Linked DNA regions of Homo sapiens: region 1 is linked to region 2. The links are contacts of gene promoters, found by promoter capture Hi-C in human tissues and cell types (Jung and others, 2019). All regions are on one chromosome and are shown on one strand. The core of a region is centred on a gene start or on the middle of the fragment in contact, and the rest is flanking DNA. Distances in the headings are between cores, read along the strand shown.

Evidence for each region. Contacts are between HindIII fragments. The study calls those that stand out against the background at their distance.
Region 1: a contact is called between the fragment with the promoter of ZNF773 here and the fragment with the promoter of ZNF256 in region 2, in 1 of the 25 tissues and cell types used here (dorsolateral prefrontal cortex).

What each region holds. Positions count from the first base shown.
Region 1 is chr19:57,498,085-57,501,257 of GRCh38, forward strand. It overlaps ZNF773 (zinc finger protein 773), which reads left to right and starts at 1,854. Exons shown (of 4, transcript NM_198542.3): 1 at 1,854-2,029. The coding sequence starts at 1,997. The HindIII fragment of the contact is 9,164 bases long and covers 1-3,173 here.
Region 2 is chr19:57,946,284-57,949,235 of GRCh38, forward strand. ZNF256 (zinc finger protein 256) reads right to left here and starts at 1,423. Exons shown (of 3, transcript NM_005773.3): 1 at 1,159-1,423. The coding sequence starts at 1,191. RefSeq lists enhancers at 832-911, 1,402-1,501, 1,572-1,661. The HindIII fragment of the contact is 18,689 bases long and covers 1-2,952 here.

The DNA.
Region 1 (3,173 bases), core at 604-3,103, 450 kb before region 2:
ATGCAGATCACTGGTTATTGAGCCTGCGGTCTGAGGGGGAAGGTTCTGACTGAAAGAGTACAGGAAAACGTTATCAGGCAATGGTAATTTTCTCTATCATGACTGTGTTGGTGGTTTCATGACAGTACAGCTGACCCTTAAATAACACAGGTTTGAAATGCACAGGTCCAATTATATGTGAATGTTTTTCAATAAATATACTGGAAAAAATTTTTGAATATTTGAGACAATTTCAAAAAACCAGAATTCATTGAAATAGGTATGCCAAGAATGCATAACACAAAATATATGTAGGTTCTATTTTATCATTACAAAACCAGAGCGATATTTTCTTTTCTTTTTTTTTGTTTTTGAGACGGATTCTCTCCCTGTCGCCCAGGCTGGAGTGCAGTGGCATGAACTCCACTCACTGCAAGCTCCACCTCCCGGGTTCATGCCATTCTCCCGTCTCAGCCTCCCGAGTAGCTGGGACTACAGGCACCTGCTACCACACCCGGCTAATTTTTTGTATTTTTTAGTACAGACGGGGTTTCACCGTGTTAGCCAGGATAGTCTCGATCTCCTGACCTTGTGATCCACCCGCCTTGGCCTCCCAAAGTGCTGGGATTACAGGCGTAAGCCACCACCTCCCTACTCTTTCTACCCAATAAATATGAAGGTCTGTGGAAGCTCAGGGCCCTTCCTCACTAGAAGCAAGAAGCCCCCTGACCCCTTCTTTAAAACAGATTTATTTTGCCTTTGTTTTCATTTCTGCATTCGTTCCCCTTCGTTCAGTCCCATAGTAACTGTGACAGGAATATGGAGCAGAAATGGATGAAGGGGAGAAATTGAGGGGGAGTTGGCTTATGGGTTTGCTGCCTGTTGTTGTGCCTTTACACCAATGTTGGGTCCTTGAGGAAGGAAAGAACACAAATGAGAATGGGGTGAAAGAGGAACGTAAATCCTTGGGCTCCCCTACTCTCTCATCACCTACATCCAGAATTCAGAGCCTTTTCTTATTATCATACATCAGGCATTAATATTGGGTGTCCCCTTGCCAAAGGAAATTTAGGAAGGTATACGTGGCTTTGCCCAGTGAAACCTCTTTATGGTGGCCCTGAAGATCCTCTTCAAGTCCTTCAAAAGAAGGAAAGATTGGAGTATCAGCTGCAGGAAACTGAAATCCAGGCCCATCTCCAATTACAACAGGTTCCAGATGAGTCCGAGAGTTCTCGACACTCATTTCTCCTCCATCTCCTACTCCATCATCTCCATCTCCATCTTCTCCATCATCTCCATCTTCATCATCATCTCCATCTCCATCATCTCCATGTCCATCATCATCTCTATCTCCATCATCTCCATCTCCATCATCTCCATCTCCATCATCATCTCTATCTCCATCATCATCTCTATCTCCATCATCTCCATCTCCATCATCTCCATCATCTCCATCTCCATCTCCTACTCCATCATCTCCATCTCCATCTTCTCCATCATCTCCATCTTCTCCATCATCTCCATCTTCTCCATCATCTCCATCTTCATCATCTCCATTTCCATCATCTCCATCTCCATCATCATCTCTATCTCCATCATCTCCATCTCCATCATCTCCATCATCTCCATCTCCATCTCCATCTCCATCATCTACCGTCTCCAATCTCCATCTCCGAAGTTATGCCCACTTCCTCGAAGTTTGGAGCCACGCGAACTACACTGCCCAGAAGGCGCCGCGCCGTGAGCCGCGATGCTTGGCCAATGAAAAGAGGTCTACCCGAGAGTGCGACGCGCAATGGGCGGGACTTCCGGCGTCTCCCCTCGGCGGTTGCTTTCGCTGCCCTCAAGAGAACTCAGCTTGCCGGAAGCTGGTTGTTCGCTGCGGCGACCAGCTCCGGAAAGCGCGGTGGGGACGCGCTGTGTTCTCGCAGCTCAGAGGCGGGTCTGAGGCTCGGTGGCGGCGCCCAGGGTGGCCCGGGCCCTTTCCTCGGTCGTTGTCTCACCGCCACAGGCTCCGATGGCGGCGGCCACGCTGAGGGACCCCGCTCAGGTGAGCGCCGCGTCCTCCCGGCCTCCCCCGAATCCTAAAGCCCTGTGAGGGCCGCCTGCTCAGGTCCCCGGGTGCAGAACTGTGGGGCGTTCGTGGGCGGCGTCCCGTTTCTGACACGCAGTGTGATGGGGTGGCAATGGAGGGCAAGGGGCCCGGCTCGCAAAGATGTGAGGCGCATTCAGCGAGTCCCGAACCTGAGGCCTCCTGGTGTCTGTAGTGGGCAGCTTGGGAAGGGACGAGGCGCGTGTCGAGCGACAGCCCGAGCAGCTGCGCTTTCATCCTGAGGGGGCCACAGTGGCCGCGGAGGGCTGGAGACAGAAGAGTGACAAGATCTGTTTCTCAAAGTTTGCCAAAGGCCCTTCAAGTCAAAACAGACTGGGGTGGGGGTGAGGCGGGTGAAGACAGACCTGTGAGTAGGTAAATTCAGTAGACTAGTGGAGAGTCTACTGGGACTGGGCCACAGAGGAGGGGAAGTGATCAGATCTTGGATGGATTTCAAAAACTGAACAGACGGGAATTCCTGTTGCATCAGATGTGACTGTGAAAGAAAGTAGGGAATGAAGAGCCATTCTGGATTTTTATTTGTATTTTTGTTTGTTCCTGAATATCAGGAAGGATGGAGATGGGTAAGGCTGTGCAGGGAATAGGTTTTGGGCATGGTGATCCTGAGATGTCCCAGAGTGGAGGTGTCATGTCCACATGAGCAGCTGGAAGGCCTGGGGCTCGTATTTAGGAGGGAGAATCTTAAAGTTTTCTTTCAGATGGTCCCTGAGGTGAGGGAAGGGAGAGATGGGCCTGTAGGATGGGGCAGCCTCTACAGCCTGGAGTTTCGTGGTCCGAAGTGATTTTGTCTGGTGCCTGCAGGAATGGAGGGTTATAGAGTATGAACACCCAGGACTGGATGGAGACCGCAGTGTTGGGTAGTATATAGGTTTGCCACTCCAGGCTTAGTAGTTCCTCATGTCCAGTCCATATGGAGAAAAGGAAAGGTCAGCCAGGCTGGTGGAGCAGCACCTTTGGTGCCTAAGTTTCCCTAGCTATCAGCACAGGTGGGATGATCAACTGCTCCAGTAGAAGGGAGGGCTCTCAGCAGGATGGTCTTCAGGGGAGTATATAGCAGGCAGCCAGATTGCCAAAAGGAAAC
Region 2 (2,952 bases), core at 173-2,672:
CGGCACGTTCATCTGCCCACTTAACGCCTCCATTTAGTAGGCTCTGAAAGATCTGACTCTTAGCATGGCATAAACAAACCTGATATCCCTAGTGAATATTACTCCTATTGCCAATTTGTTCATCTTAGTTGATGAAACTTCTTTCCCTACAGCTGCTAATACCAAAAACCCTGGAGTCTTCTCTGAACCCTCTGTTTCACTCCCTCACCACCTACATTATGTAATTTAGTTGTCCCTTTTGAAACCACACATCCGGAATCTAACCACATCTCCTAAATCACGATCCTGGGCCAGTAACCCTCACTTGGACTAGTCTACCCTGATTTTCCTTCCTCCTCCCTCAACCCCCCAGTTTGTGCCCCACTGTGCACACAGATGAAGCCTGTGAAGACCTTGGTAAATTACCTCTTTTTTCTGATTCAAACTTGCTATTACCTCCTGAAAACACACTCAACTTCTCAGGCAGCCACTGCAGTCCTGACGCCTATCCTCCTGTTCTTTGCTTCCCACCAGAAAGCAAGGAGACTTGTGGCTTCATAAATGCACCCAGCTCCGTACTGCACCTAAGCATTTGCACATCTTGTACCTTTCTGGAAAAACTTTCCACACCCGTTCACATGGCTGCCAGAAATTGGAACAACTCTATATACCGGCTAACATGGACATAGGACCCTGGGCTTGGGGTTCACCCAAGGTCTTCAGAACTAAGGGCTGGGGGAATGGCACTCCACAACCCAGAGAACCTGTGGGTGGGAGTTAGGGCTAGTGAGAGACTGGGAAACCCTCCCCTTCCTGGCGTAGATTTCATAACCCTTTACAGCCAAGGGAAACGTAGAAAGAGCCAGGCCTCAGAGAAGAGCATCTATGGCGGTATTAGATGGGCTCAAGCCACCCCGTAGCCCCATGCCTGGCCTTGGAGCCGGGTGCCCTCGCAATGGCTGTGTCACCTCTGTGCCCCAGGGCTCAGTGGCGCCTCTCATCAGGGGCTCCTTGCCAGTCGCGCCCTCCCTTCCCTAGCACACCAGGTGTTGGAAACGGGAGCCCCTCCGGCGAGCCCCCGTGTCCTGTCCTGGGCAGCAGGGCCGCGAGCAAGCGCCCTCGGGGGTGCTAGGACTAGCGTGGGGAGGGCGGGGAAGGCCCAGAGGACGCGGCACATACCTGGGCCGGGGCCGTCAGCTCGGCCGCCGCCATCTGACTCTGTGAGCGGAGCGGGGCCAGAGAGGATGTCCTTATTCCGGGCCGGGCCTGGGTACCCTGGGCGCCGCCGAGCCTCAGCCACGCCTCTGTGCAGCGGGGAAGACTCCTCTCGCGCCTTCTCAGTCAGTCACGGATGATGCTGACCCAGCGCTCCGGGGCTTTCTACCAAGTAATCAGTCCAGACAAATGCCAAAACGACCGCCACAAGGAGGACAACGGAAGTCCCGCCGCGACCGCGCGTGCGCTTACGGAAACACCACCTTTCGGAGGCCTCATTGGCTGAAGGTCGCCGTCGCCCAACGCAGGCCATTCTGGGTAATGTTCCCACAGGCGCACGGCGGGAGAGTGAGGGTCGCCTCCACCTCCTTCCGGAAGTAAAGGCCAAACCCCTGTAGGGGGCGCTGGGAAATGGACACTCCAGGTTGGGGCGGAGGCGAGGCTTCGTTCTTTCTTAAAGGAGACGTACCCAGGTTTCTACCGATTGCTGTCTGCCAGTGTTTGTTTGGAGACGTGTCATTTCATGTGTTCCCAGAGGCACATATCCAGATGCACATATTATTACATACAGTCAGTCAGTCACAAAATATATCCACTGGTTGAGAAAGCAAATAAATATGACTATGTTGCGGCCGGGCGCGGTGGCTCACGCCTGTAATTCCAGCACTTTGGGAGGTCGAGGCGGGCGGATCACGAGGTCAGGAGATCGAGACCATCCTGGCTAACTCAGCGAAACCCCGTCTCTAAAATACAAAAAATACCACAAAAAAAAAAAAAAAAAGAAAAATTAGCTGGGTGTGGTGGCGGGCGCCTGTAGTCCCCAGCTACTCCGGAGGCTGAGGCAGGAAAATAGCTTGAACCCGGGAGGCAGAGCTTGCAGTGAGCCGAGATCGCGCCACTGCACTCCAGCCTGGGGGAAAGAGCGAGCCACTGTCTCAAAAAAAAAAAAAAAAAAAAAAAAAAAAAAAGACTATGTTGCAATTCAAACGCATGCACTCAAGCACTGGAGTCAGTTTTCTCAGTCTCTGTATGTTTGATTAGGGACAAGAAAAAAAACACTCCACACAGGTTCATGACAAAGAGGATGAAGGTGGGATGCGGAGGCACCCTGCAGCAGCAGGACATAAGTAGATCCCTGTCTCTGGGTCCCTCTCGTGCCTGTGTAGTCAAACATTGTGTCCAATTCACTAAGCAACACTTGCATGAATCTAATCTCACTTTCTCCATGCCTTTATATTCACTTCTTTTTAATAATTTGACATCAAGCTCAGAAAGAGAACAACAAAAGGAATGGTATTTTGAAAAGGCATGATGGCTAGCTAGAGCATTAACAGGTGGAACAAAGGGTGCTCTGAATCCCAAATGTAGGGTGTATCTTAAATTCAAGATCTCTTCTCAACGCTGAAATGATTATCTTTGCCCCCATTAGTTACGCTCTTGTTGCCCAGGCTGGAGTGCAATGGTGCGATCTCGGCTCACCACAACCTCTGTCTCCCGGGTTCAAGCGATTCTCCTGCCTCAGCTTCCCAAGTAGCTGGAATTACAGGCGCCCGCCACCGTACCCGGCTAATCTTTTTTTTTTTTTTTTTTTTTTGTATTTGTATTTTTAGTAGAGACGGAGTTTCGCCATATTGGCCAGGCTGGTCTCGAACTCCTGACCTCAGGTGATCCACCCACCTCGGCCTCCCAAAGTGCTGGGATTACAGGCGTGAGCCACTGTGCCCGGCCCTTTGCCCCCATTATTATAGGGCTGTTCTG